Linked DNA regions of Homo sapiens: all the other regions are linked to region 4. Evidence: promoter capture Hi-C in 16 types of primary human blood cells and fetal thymus (Javierre and others, 2016). All regions are on one chromosome and are shown on one strand. Each heading gives the region's core, a stretch centred on a gene start or on the middle of the fragment in contact. The rest is flanking DNA. Distances are from core to core; before and after follow the strand shown. Region 1 has its middle 73 kb from the start of TRIM36. Region 2 overlaps FEM1C (fem-1 homolog C). Region 3 overlaps FEM1C (fem-1 homolog C). Region 4 holds the start of CCDC112 (coiled-coil domain containing 112).

The links. Contacts are between HindIII fragments. The CHiCAGO score rates a contact against its expected background, and 5 or more counts as called.
Region 1: a fragment that was not itself captured here is called in contact with the fragment with the promoter of CCDC112 in region 4 in 1 of 17 cell types (M2 macrophages); the score reaches 5.3 in M2 macrophages.
Region 2: a fragment that was not itself captured here is called in contact with the fragment with the promoter of CCDC112 in region 4 in 2 of 17 cell types (M1 macrophages and activated CD4 T cells); the score reaches 5.7 in M1 macrophages.
Region 3: a fragment that was not itself captured here is called in contact with the fragment with the promoter of CCDC112 in region 4 in 15 of 17 cell types (non-activated CD4 T cells, naive CD8 T cells, activated CD4 T cells and 12 more); the score reaches 12.3 in non-activated CD4 T cells.

The regions. Positions count from the first base shown.
Region 1 is chr5:115,095,470-115,098,700 of GRCh38, reverse strand. No RefSeq gene overlaps it. Among named protein-coding and RNA genes, the nearest start is that of TRIM36, 73 kb to the left of the region's middle. The HindIII fragment of the contact is 1,431 bases long and covers 797-2,227 here.
Region 2 is chr5:115,518,970-115,522,240 of GRCh38, reverse strand. It overlaps FEM1C (fem-1 homolog C), which reads left to right. Exons shown (of 3, transcript NM_020177.3): 3 at 1-1,333. Among named protein-coding and RNA genes, the nearest start is that of FEM1C, 24 kb to the left of the region's middle. The HindIII fragment of the contact is 4,322 bases long and covers 1-3,271 here.
Region 3 is chr5:115,535,776-115,538,875 of GRCh38, reverse strand. The region is part of intron 2 of FEM1C (fem-1 homolog C); the gene reads left to right. Among named protein-coding and RNA genes, the nearest start is that of FEM1C, 7.4 kb to the left of the region's middle. The HindIII fragment of the contact is 5,527 bases long and covers 1-3,100 here.
Region 4 is chr5:115,295,391-115,298,378 of GRCh38, reverse strand. CCDC112 (coiled-coil domain containing 112) reads left to right here and starts at 1,725. Exons shown (of 10, transcript NM_001040440.3): 1 at 1,725-1,952. The coding sequence starts at 1,836. LOC105379129 (a long non-coding RNA gene) reads right to left here and starts at 1,451. Exons shown (of 5, transcript XR_948684.3): 1 at 1,031-1,451. RefSeq lists a silencer at 1,627-2,076. The HindIII fragment of the contact is 8,729 bases long and covers 1-2,988 here.

The sequences.
Region 1 (3,231 bases), core at 263-2,762, 200 kb after region 4:
GTCTAATCAAGTCTAGAAATGTCAAGGAAATTACCTCTCCCTTTTTAAATTCAGCATCTGGGTGAAATTAACTCTTGAAAAAAAATAGTTTTGATTTGATGGCTGGTTGATAGGCAATGACAACAGAGGCTATGAGAGTTTTGGGCTCTGCTTACAGAATCATTCACATGGAAAATGACAAGCTGTAACTGCCCAGGTAAAAATCAGAATTCAGCAACTACTGTTGAGAGTTTTCAAAAATAACTGGAGAGCAAGTTTTCCACAGCCCCCAAGTGAATTTCGGATGGCATTTTATTTTATGTCCTCTTTGGATTCTTTAACTGAGAAATCCCCTAGTTAGGAGGAAAAAAGCAACAACAAAAATGTGTTAGGCATGTGCAAGTGGAGAGTAGATTCTAAGTGAGGATATTGCCCCCTAGTGCTGAAATGTAGCCCAACCAGGAGCACCCCCACAAAGCACAGCTGAATATGGTTATGCAAAAGTCTCAAATTATTCATCTGATTTGACTTATTTGTGGATGCTCAAAAGAATTAACATATTAGACAGTGTTAGGCAATCTGCAGCTAACAATAACTCTTGCCCGTTTGAGTACCAGTTGGAAAACTTCCAGGGACTGTGATCTTATGTAAGTATAAGGTAGAGGTGATGACACTTTTAGAAGTAGCAGCTCATTTTGGTGAAGAGTTTTGGTTCATGAAGATTTTCTTTCACATTTGTGGTAAGTGGTTAATAATTTTACTGTTTGAATCTTGCCAATAGGATTTACAGCCAGTTGTCTTTCATGAAAGATAAGCTTGTTATACTTTTTATATAACTTGTATTAAGTATTGCTAGTATTAAATTCTGTATACAACGTCAGGATATTGAATTCAGTTTTTTAAATTTGGCCAACATGTGAGTTTGTCTTAGGTATCAGGCAAATGGCTTATTTGGGTTTTGTTGTCAGGGAGAGAAAGTTAAAATGGCTTCTTCATCTCACAACCTGTGTTGGTCAGGGGCCAACCAGGAGACAAAAACCACACAGTAATTTGAAAAGGAAAAGCTAAAGTATTAACTATGACCAAGGATTCGAATAACAGGGAATTGGCTGGTAAGAAGTAAAGAGAATGTTAAAGAATACAGAAATAGCAGTTACAGGGAATAGCCACTGTCCCTGGCACTGACAGAGAGCACCAACAAAGGTGCAAATTTCAAAAAAACATCCCCAAACCCCACCACCTCTACCGCCTGTCAGGTCTCCTGGCTGAGATCCAGACCTCAATGGAGAGGGTATGGGTGTGGCCATGGTGCTAAGATGCCAGGATGGTGACACTCCTTAGAAATGCTAAGGGAGGCTGGGTGCTGTGTCTCATGCCTGTAATCCCAGCACTTTCTGAGGCCAAGGTGGGTGGACCACTTGAGGTCAGGAGTTCAAGACTAGCCTGGCCAAAATGGCAAAACCTTGTCTCTACTAAAAGTACAAAAATTAGGCCGGGCACAGTGGCTCATGCCTGTAATCCCAGCACTTTGGGAGGCCAAGACAGGTGGATCATGAGGTCAGGAGTTCGAGACCAGCCTGACCAACATGGTGAAACCCCGTCTCTACTAAAAAAATACAAAAATTAGCCAGGCATGGTGGCGTGCGCCTGTAATCACAGCTATTCAGGAGTCTGAGGCAGGAGAATCGCTCAAACCTGTGGGGCAGAAGTTGCAGTGAGCTGAGATCGTGCCACTACGCTCCAGCCTGGGCGACAGAGCAAGACTCTGTCTCAAAAAAAAAAAAAAAAAAAAAAGAACTGAAAGTACAAAAATTAGCTGAGCATGTTGGCAGGCGCCTGTGATTCCAGCTACTCAGGAGGCCGAGGCAGGAGAGTTGCTTGAACCCGGGAGGTGGAGGTTGCAGTGAGCTGAAATTGTGCCACTTCACTCCAGCCTAAGTGACAGAGCGAGGCTCCATCTCAAAAAAAAAAAGAGAAGATTAAAAAAAAAAGAAAAAAAAGAAATGCTAAGGGAGCTGTTCAGAGGGAGGTATTATGCCTTAGGGCCAAAGTGGGTGTCAGAGAAAGCTGCCTACAGGGAACTGCTATAGACTGTGTGCTGCCAGTTGCCTGCTGCCACATGCTGTACGAGCCAAGAGTGGTGGAAGCTGCGTGCTTCAGAAGCCTACTGAGAGGAGCACACCAGAATCTGAAAAGCCATGCTTTTCCCTCCTCCTGTGTTCCTTCCATGTGCTCTACTGACAAAGCTTAACAATGTGCCAGCTGGCAAAAGGAAGATACAGGTTCTTTCTCTTTTATTATGGAGCAGGCAATGAAGAATGGATTTGAACCCCAGTCAATAAATGAATAACTGTACAGGATATTTTAAATATTTTTCAGTATTGGAAACATGCCTTTTTTTTTTTTTTTTTTTTTTTTTTTGAGACAGGGGCTTGCTCTGTTGCCGAGGCTAGAGTGCAGTGGCGTGATCATGACTCATTGCAGCCTCGATCTCCTAGGCTCAAGCCATTCTTCCGCTTAAGCCTCCTGAGTAGCTGGGGCTGCAGGGATGCACCACCAAGCCCAGCTAATTTTTATAGTTTTTGCAGAGATGGGGTTGTGCCATTTTTCCCAGGCTATTCTTTTCTAATGCAAGCACTTAACGCTATAAATTTCTCTAAGCACTGCTTTAGCTACATCCCACACATTTTAACATGTTGAGTTTGATTTTCACTCAGTTAAAAATGTTTTCTAATTTTCCTTGTAATTTCTTTTTACCCATGTGCTACTTAGAAGTGATTTCCTTAATTACCAACTACTTGAAGATTTTCCAGTATCTTTCTTTTATTGTTTCTAGTTTATTTCTGTTGTGATAAGAGAATAGACTCTATATGACTTTACTCTTATGTATACTGAGACTTGTTTTATCATGCTGAATATGATTTATCTTGATGAATGTTTCATGTTCATTTAAAAAGAATGTTGCTGGGTGAAGTGTACTACAAATTTCAACTAGGTCAGGTTAGTTGATGGTGTTCACATCCTTATATCCTTGCTGAGTTTTTATCTACTTATTCTGTGAATTACTGAGAGGGGAGCATTGAAATCTTCAAGTTATGATTTGGATTAGCTTATTTTTCCTTCCAATATTCTCAGCACTATGCAACCTCAGAAAATGCAAGTTCTGATTCAGGAGGTTTAGGGTAGATTCTAATAGTCTGCATTTCCAACAAGCTCCTTGGTAATGCTGTGCTGTTGCTGATTCCCTTATTA
Region 2 (3,271 bases), core at 15-2,514, 220 kb before region 4:
AAGGAAAACTTTGCCATTATAGTAAATTACATTAGTTGATCTCGATAATTTGAGGATAACAGATGACAATTGAATTTTTAATTGATTTAGTATTTCCTCCTCCTCTTTGGGGGCTGGGTGGGAGGGCTTACATGCTCTTATAGTGAGGCACATCTCACTGTTTTGCAGCAGAATTTGAATTGTGCAACTCCTGTGTAAAGTAAGGATTTCTTTAAATAGCATTTTTGCACCAGTAAAAATAGATAACTTAGAACTCAGTCTTGATAACTGAAATGACTTATTTCACTTAGAATACATTTCTCCCTTCTCTGCCATCTCCACAAATGCCATTGGGAGGTTTTGAAAAACCAGTTAATTTAATAGCTCAAAATTGTCCCTGATTTTATTTTCTTTTAGGGAAAATTGTTTCATAAATGTGACACTGATAAAGCCTTTGTCAGAAAGTATTCTCACAATTATGAGATGGATTATAATAAAATACTTAAATTTGTGTTATTTTTTGAACCACAGATGAGTAAATTTAATAATGAACCAATTACACTCTTGAGTCTAACTAAACTGTACACTGTAGCACGGTGTTATTGACTGGAGTTAATGTGTAAGTTATTAACATTTCTATGAAAATGCCCTTTTGGGGCCTCCTGAATTTTAGATGTTCCACTGTTTTGATCATTTCTATAAAAGAAATGGTCATTTTACTTAGATGCCAGTCTACTTTATAAAGACAAATGGATTATAGACTTAAAAATAGTCATTTTTCTTATTCATAAATCTGACAGGCATAAACCCAAATCAAAGATAATTTGGTGCCCATTATGAATTTGAAGTTAAGTGATAGCTCACTTGTAAAGTGACTACCTTAATGTGTATAGAGACCCCAGTCTACTATTATTTGGGAAAATTGTTTAGGTTATATGGGAAAAGTAGCTCTTTAAAAATCATATTGCCCAACAGAAACCTTAGGCTGAATTTACAGGTATGATAATTTTTGTAATTAATTTTCTTAGAATTGTGCAGGCTGGATGAGATAATGACATACTCTTTTACACTGTAACAGCAGCATTATTGCCTAGAACTTTAACCATTTTAGAGTTAGATACTAAGGAAACAAACTAATTGGTCATCATCATTTTCTTTTTTTCTTTTTCTTTTTTTTTTTTTTGCCCTTATGTGTCACTAAACAACTAGTTTCTCTCCCTTTTGTCAGTTCCCATTGTGTATTTTTTCAAAAGAAGTACTGTATTCGGATGCCAGCTAATAAATTGTCACACAATGGAAAATCATATGCCACAACATTCATTGTAAGGTTTAATAAAATTAAATTTGCACCAAATTTAAGTGTATTCTTATTAACTCAATACTTGATTGGTATTATCCTAATGCAAATGATAGTAAACTCCTGTTTCAGAAAAACCTAATTGATAATTTGTGGCCAGTTAAAACTTAAAAGATAGCATTTATTGTTAATACTTCTATGTAAGTATGATTTATGTACAGTTTATTCTAAATTTTTTTTCTAGTAGAGATCACAGAAGCTAAAGATATGGGGAGACTTTTGTTGTCAACTGCATGAGAGAAGGGATGCCTTTAATTTTTGTTTTTTAATTGGTTTGCTGTGATCAGAAGTATATCATAAATATATTATTATGAATGCAAATTTTATACGTTTGTTTTCCATCACTTTTCATTTGTAAAATCTAAGTAGTCCTTGTTTTTTTTATGTTTAACTTGCCTAATACAAAAAGCTCTAGTTGAGTCAGAAAATGAATTGGCTGTAATTTCTAAACTCCAAGCATAAATTGAAATCTCCAGTTTTATGGGTTTTTCCCTTTTGAATTGTTAATATCCCTTTTTCATGACAAGTATAGGCTTTGTCTTCCTTTGACCGGGCCCTTTTAAACATTAGTCTTCTTTACCCTTGGTCTTGTGGTTCTATGGTTGTCTGCACTACCACCACCAATATTTAGGAGGACTCTTACCAAATTTATCAGTAAAAGAATATTGTATGTTTAAGGCTCTAAATAAGAAAAAGTCTTAGTATGTCCTCAAGATACTCTATTTCTTCAAGATACTTTATTTCATTTTTTTAATCTCTGTACTAGTGGGTAGAACGTTCTTTGTTGAGAAGTTTGGGGCTGTGGGAGTTAAGTGAAGTCACTGATTCCTGGGTTCCGTGTTACTTTATTGCATGTTTTTTTGTAAAGCTCTTAAATAAGATTTTATCTCATAAAATTACAGCTTTATATAATTATGTCAATTTAATTGATTTTTCTAATATATGTACATCTGATTTCAAAAGTGAAATAATACAGTTCCCTACCTTGAAAAAATTGAAAACCCTAGGATTGGTATCTATTTTTAGTATCTTTTCATCCTTATACTTGTAGATTATACAGCTATAAAAGATACTTGTAGTAGTACATAGTTGTTCTAAAACCTAGTATCTTAGGTATGTTTTCCTTTTTTCTTTTTCCCATGTTGAATCTTAAGTTTTTTCAAGACAGAAATTCTTAAAGTAGTAGTAGCTAAAATTTGGTAAATTATGAAAATGCAATTTAAAGTCACGAATGACTTTAAATAAGTGTGATCGGGATTATATACTGGAAAGTTGAGAGAAAATTAGGCATATTCCTCATGCTCTTTCAGAGTAATCTTTCACACACACAAAAAATAAGCCTGCATTGTATGCCACTAGGCAACAATATCTTTCTACTTATCTCTTCAGTAGCTGATAGTAGAATAGCTTCTACTCATCTAAATGTAACTTTTTACAGAAATGGTGGGAGCTTTAGTTATACAGAATTTGTAAAATGCATTTAAACCTTTCCGATGATCATCTTAAGAATAAACTAGTGTTTTGTACTATTTTGCATCACTTAATGCCTAGGAAAATGTACTGAGATGTGTCCTTTAGGTGATTTTGTCATTGTGAGACCATCCTAGAATGTACTTAAACCTAGATGGTCTAGACTACTACGCTACATTCCTAGGCTATATCGTATAGCCCATTGCTCTTACTCTACCAACCTGTATAGCAAGTTACTGAATATTTTGGGCAATTGGAACACAATGGTAAGTATTTGTGTATCTAAACATAGAAAAAGTACAGTAAAAATATTGTTTAAAAGAAAGAAAGAAAAAAAAAAATGGGGGACTTACCATGAGTAGAGCTTGCAGGACTGGAAGTTGCTCTGGGTCAGTTGGTGAGGAAGTGATGAGTTAATGTGAAGGCCTAGAATGTTATGCATTATCGTAGACTTTATAAACATTG
Region 3 (3,100 bases), core at 143-2,642, 240 kb before region 4:
AGAAAGTTTATTGGGATGTGGATCTGTGGAAGGGTTTTGGCAGTTTTGAAGGTTTAGGAAATGGCATAAGGAAAGGCACTTTGAAGAATATGCTTGGAGGGTCCAGGAATTGGAAAGTAGGCATATTAGAACTAAAAGGCACTCAGGGCTGAATTTTAAAGGACATTTAATCTAGGTACAGGAGTTGGATTTTATTTTTCATGCCAGTAAAAGTTTTTCAGCAGGGGACTAACTGGAGTGGTTTGTTTGTTTGCTTGTTTGTTTTCAGAGAAACTTATCTAACTGCATTCTACTACAACACTGTGACATCTAACCGCATTCTACTACATAGTCTTTGAGGCTAAAGACCTAGTGTTTTTACCCCATGCATTAGGAAGAGTATCTGGCCCTAAATGAGCTTGTTGAGTGGACATGTTGGATTTAAGAGAGGAAAGATTATAAGCTCCTTGATGGCAAGCACTATGTTTTATAGGCCTTTCTGTAGGGAAATAAATACATGCATGAAGACTTGAAGTAACAAAGTAAGACAGTAGTTGGACAAAAATGAGTAGCACAGGTAGAATATAGGGGTTCAGAAAAGGGAGAAATTCATGTAGGCATGTGGCAAGGATTGCTAGCATTAAAAGGGTTTGAGAGAACTAGTTCAGACAGATTATTTGCCTTTTCATTATGGAAATTTTCTAACTTACACAGAGAGAATACATTGAACCACTATGTATTCATCATCTTACTTCAACAATTACCCATTTGCTAAAGTTTAAAAAAAAGTTTCTACTTTCCTTTTGTTTTCTATAGTAGTTTAAAGCAAATCCAAGGCTTTATATTATTTCTCTCTCATAGAATGGGCATTTAGAATATAGATGTATTTTAGTCAAGGAAATGCTAAAGAAAAATCTTATTTAATTCCCCACTGTAAATGCACAAGAATCTCAAATGAGAAAATCTCTCTTGTAAACTAAAAACTGTTGGTATTCAGATAGACTAAGATAATGATTGATGTCATTCTAGGTTATTTTAGTATACTTTAGTACTATCTGAGTGTTGAAAGCTGAAGTTCTCTTTTCCTTCTTGACTTTGAAAACTCTTCTCAGCTGTTGGTTACCTCAGCACACCTACTTACAGAGAAAAATAAAAGGGGGAAGGGAGGGACTTATTCTAATATATCTATATTTATTTTGATTGAGTAATGTTTAAATAACTTACTAGTTGAAGTCATTAACACTTTAATCCCAAATTATGAAGTTACTCCTGTAAGTTGCTCTGTGTTCATTCTTTTCCCTCTTGTATCCCCTGGCACACTTTTCTGTGTCCTTGGGAAGAATTAGTATCTTAGTTGGATAAACTAAGCTGTAGATGGTGTGCAAATTGAGTCCAGTAGGGAAATATCCATGTGGTCCTTTGTCCCTGGAGATTGGATTTTGAACTGTGAATCCTCACAGAATTGAGCAGTTTGGTGAGAATGAGTAGATCCTGAGCACTACTGCTGTTCATATTGTTCGTGGCAGTAACATGAGCTTAAGATAGAAGTTACGTTTCACTTACTGGCCTTCGGGTACAATGTAGTTCCTTCACTGGTTCATTTTTTATCAGATTTTCATTGATTGGTTGATAAAATATGTTTGTTTGAAATAAAATTCAGGAAACCCAGGGCATTACATAGATTTATGCTGTTGAGGCAGCAGGAATGTATGTGATGGAAGATAGAAGTGGAAGAGATAGGGAGAGACCCAGATGAAAAAGTCAGTTGGATGCAAATCTGATCAGAACATGTCTTCCTTCTTTTTTTCCTCCCTTTGGGAAGAGCTGTGATTGAACAGGGAGTCTGTGAACTAGAGGACAGGGAATTATAATGTTGAAGTTTTCTGTCATTAGATGAGTTTTTTACACATAATTAGTTGCTTTTAGTCCTCATCCCTTAGCTCCAGTGCTCTTAGCCTTGAAAATTCTACTTAACATCGAGACTCATTTCAAATGCAATTCTTCATCTCCCTCAGGTTATAAGAATGCATCTTACCTCTTTGGATGCAGATATTTTTTAGCGTTTAACTTTGTTGTAAGCTCAAGGACCTTTATTGTTAAATTTCTGTTTGTTCTTTGCTCAGTGCCTTATACAAAGAATTAATGAAGGGAGGGCACATAGTAAGTAGTCTTGGCACAATTTATCTTCTTTTTTTTAATTTCCTTTTTTTTGAACTTCTGTTCTTGAGTATCTCTCATGATAGACTACACATGGGGAAGGGAAACATTCTAAGCAGAGAATCCTTCTTCTAGTGCTCCTTTGATACCCTAAGTTGTTTTTTTCCCTTTATCCCTTCTTACCTCCTCCATCAACCTACACCTGTTAGTTATTCAGGGAATAAAATACTTGGAATCAGCATTATTGTGCAATTGAACCACACACCCTATCCTCATCTTACAAGTGGACCACCTCTGTACTCAGCCCAACCCCAGCTACAAAGTTGAGGAAGGAATGGGTTGGTGCCAAGCATAGTAGGCTGAAGAAAGAGAGATGAGGACTGTTTTTGTGTCTTTCCAAATAAATGTATTATAATAAAAGACCCTCTAATTGCTGCTTCTATCAGTCAACACTTATACTTTCACCAAAAATATAATATTTTTATTTTAATTGGATTTTTAAAACAGCCTTATTGAGATAAAATTCACAAAACCACTTAAAGTGTATACAATTCAATGGCTTTTCAGTATGTTCACGGGGTTATACAACCATCACAACTATCAGCTTTTCATCACCCCCGGAAAAAATCTCATATCCATTAAGAGTCACTCCCTCCTATCCCTCCTCATTCCCCTGAAACTGCACTAGTCTTAGGCAACCAGTAATCTCTTTTCTGTCTTAAGTTTGCCTGTTCTGGACATTTAATTTAAATGGAATCACATAATATGTAGTCTTTTGTGAGTTGTCTTGTTACTTAGTGTAATGTTTTCAAGGTTCATCCATTTTGTAGCATGTATGAGTGCTTTTCTTTTTATTGCAGAATAATATTCCATTGAAATAGATATATCACTTTTATTCATTCAGCAGTTGATGGGCATTTGGGTTGTTTATACTTTTTAGCTATTCATGGATAAATTCTTCTGT
Region 4 (2,988 bases), core at 476-2,975:
CTTCTCCTTCTTCTTCTTTGCCTTCTTCTTCTCCTCCATTCTTCTTCCTTCTTCTTCTTCTCCCCTCTTCTTCTTCTCTTTTTTTTTTTTTTTTTTTTTTTTTTTTTTTTTTTTTTTTTTTTTTTGTTGAGACGAAGTCTCACTCTGTCACCAGGCTGGAGTGCAATGACACGATCTTGGCTCACTGCAACCTCCGACTCCCTGGTTCAAGCAATTCTCCTGCCTCAGCCTCCCGAGTAGCTGGGACTACAGACAGGCGCCACCACGCCCAGCTAATTTTTGTATTTTTAGTAGAGATGGGGTTTCACCATGTTGGCCAGGATGGTCTCCATCTCCTGACCTCGTGATCCGCCCACCTCGGCCTCCCAAAGTGCTGGGATTACAGGCGTAAGCCACCACGTCCGGCCTCTTCTGCAAAAACTTCCCTCCACAGACTTCCGGTTTTCCTCCCTTCTCACAGATCTCTCCATATTGGTCCCCTTCTCCTCTTGTCCGTGGTCACCTTCTCGGAGTGGCCTAGGCTTAGTTCTCAGACTTCAATTTATACTCACCCTGGGTGAGCTCATTCAGTCTTATTTCAAATATTTTCTATAGGAAGATCAAATTCGTATCTTTAGCTCTCTCTCTCCTGGGCTCCAGAGGCGTTTATCCCGCTGCCTGTTTAATACCTCTACCAGGATGGTCTCTGGAGTCAGGCTGTCTAGATAGGTATCCTACCCTCTACCTGTGTGGCCATGTGATCCTTAACTTTATCACTGAAATGGAGATGATAATAGTACCTACTTCATGAAGTTATTTGTGAAGATTAAATGCAAAAGTGCATATAAAGCACTTATAACAGCCCTGGCATAAAGGAATTGCTCAATAAATACCTATTTGTTTACTTGTTAAAGGTGAAGGAACCTTACCTATGTGTCTAATTCAACAATGAATTCCCAAGGCCTAGAACAGTGCCTGACATATGCTAGGAGCTCCATATTGACTGACTGAATGAATCGATTTCTATAAAGGGGGAAAAGGTAGTACCTACAGAAATCAGCTCAGTTGCCACAGGTTGTCTTGACTGGAAGCGTCATCTGTGGCTTTTTTCCAACTTCCCAGCACTGTATTTTTGGAATCTGTCTTCTCATTGACCAAGTCCTAGGAATGTAACTGTGGCATTCCTGCCTCTGATATCTGGTTCTGTGGAGCAAGCTGGGTTTTTTTCTTTAAAAATCTAAAATATGATTTATTGTTAGAATCCATTGATAATGTTTTTTCATTTAGACTCAGTCTCAGCAGCGCTAAGTAGAAACCTAGAAAGCGGATGTATATTAGGTAAAAATATGTATATATTGACTATAACACGAATAAAATTTAAGGACGATGTAAGACAATGAATTTTCTTGACAGGTATGGGACTGGGCTGGCACAGTCGGTTAAGTGCCCAAAGGGTATATAAACCCGCGACAGGGCAGAGCGCAGCCCCCGCCCCGCCCCGCCCCGCCCCCACACCCGCCCGCCCCAGAACCCCAGACCCGCCCCTCCCCTGCATCCCGGCTCCGCCCGGCACCTTGCCCCTCCCTCGCCCCGCCCCTCCCCGCCTGAATCCCGGCCCCCGCCTCGCATTTCGGCCCCGCCCTGCACCCCAGTCCCGCCCCTCCCGCACCCCCGCACCCCTGCACCCCCGCATCTCAGCCCCGCCCTGCATCCCGACCCCGCCCTACATCTCGGCCCCGCCCTGCATCCCGGCCAAGCCCGCAGCGCAGGGAGCTGTCTGCAGAGGCCAGGGTGCGCCTGCCACGAATCCCCAGGCACCGGTGGCCGCCGCGGCCCGAGTAGCTCGGCGGGTAAACATGGCCGCACTGACGACGGTTGTGGTAGCGGCTGCGGCCACCGCGGTAGCCGGGGCTGTGGCAGGGGCGGGCGCGGCCACCGGGACCGGCGTGGGAGCGACGCCAGCGCCTCAACAGGTAAATCCGGGAGAACCGAGAGCTGCTCTGGCGGCAGGCGAGGGGCTGCAGGCCCTGGCTGAACAGGTGCCCTCTGCAGCGCCGGCGGGAGGCGCGGCGTTCGCCTCCCCTGCTCGGGGCCTGGCACGCGCTGGGCGTTGCTCTTTGTTGGCTTGTGCGTTTAACAGCTTTTGCAGAGCCGCCTCCATGTGGTTTCGGAGTCGAGGAAGACCTGGGTGGGAACCCGGCTCTGCCGCTTCCTAGCCGCGTGATAAGAACATATGCTGTCGGCGACTCACTTTCTTCTCTAAAAATTGGGAATAGTAACATGCACCTCCCGAGCTTTGGACTAACGTTATGTCTGGGGAGCCCCTGGCACAGTGCTTGATTGGAGGGGGACTCTGTGCTCAGTAATTGGTGGCAGCTCTGTTACTGTACCGGCGCTGGGAACACAAGGAGAAAGACAATATGGGATGGTCGGAGGCAGAGGTGTTTCCAGTGATCGGCTTAGGACCGCTTTCTAGGTGGTGAGGACAAGGTATCTTTGTTCAGATGTTATCAGCTCAGCGAGACTTTCCATGATCTCCCTAAAATGAATCGCCTTACGCGGCACACCCAGTCCCTGTTTCTGGTTTTATTTTTCCCCATAGCACTTAGTACCATATATTATATTACATACTTTATTTCTATTGTTTATGTTTCTCCTCACACCCCTCACCCTCCCTCGCACCCCCATGAGAATGTAAGCTCCATGAGGGCAGAAAGTATTGGAAATTTTATTCTTTATTGTATTCCCAGCACCAAGAACTATGCCTGTTGTGTAGTGCCTGGAACGTAGTATGCACTTACTAAATAATTTGTGGATCAATATAAACCTGAAGGAAGGCTGTCATGAGCTGAGGAGAGGTTCCATCTTTTTCCTCCTTTAAGGAAATACAGTGTCTTTACTCGTAGACCTTCAGGAAATTCCACCTACGGCAAATTTTCTCACACATCCTCTATAATTCTCTTTATTATTCTAACTCTGTCCCAAGTATCTCAGGAAAAAATGTAAAAT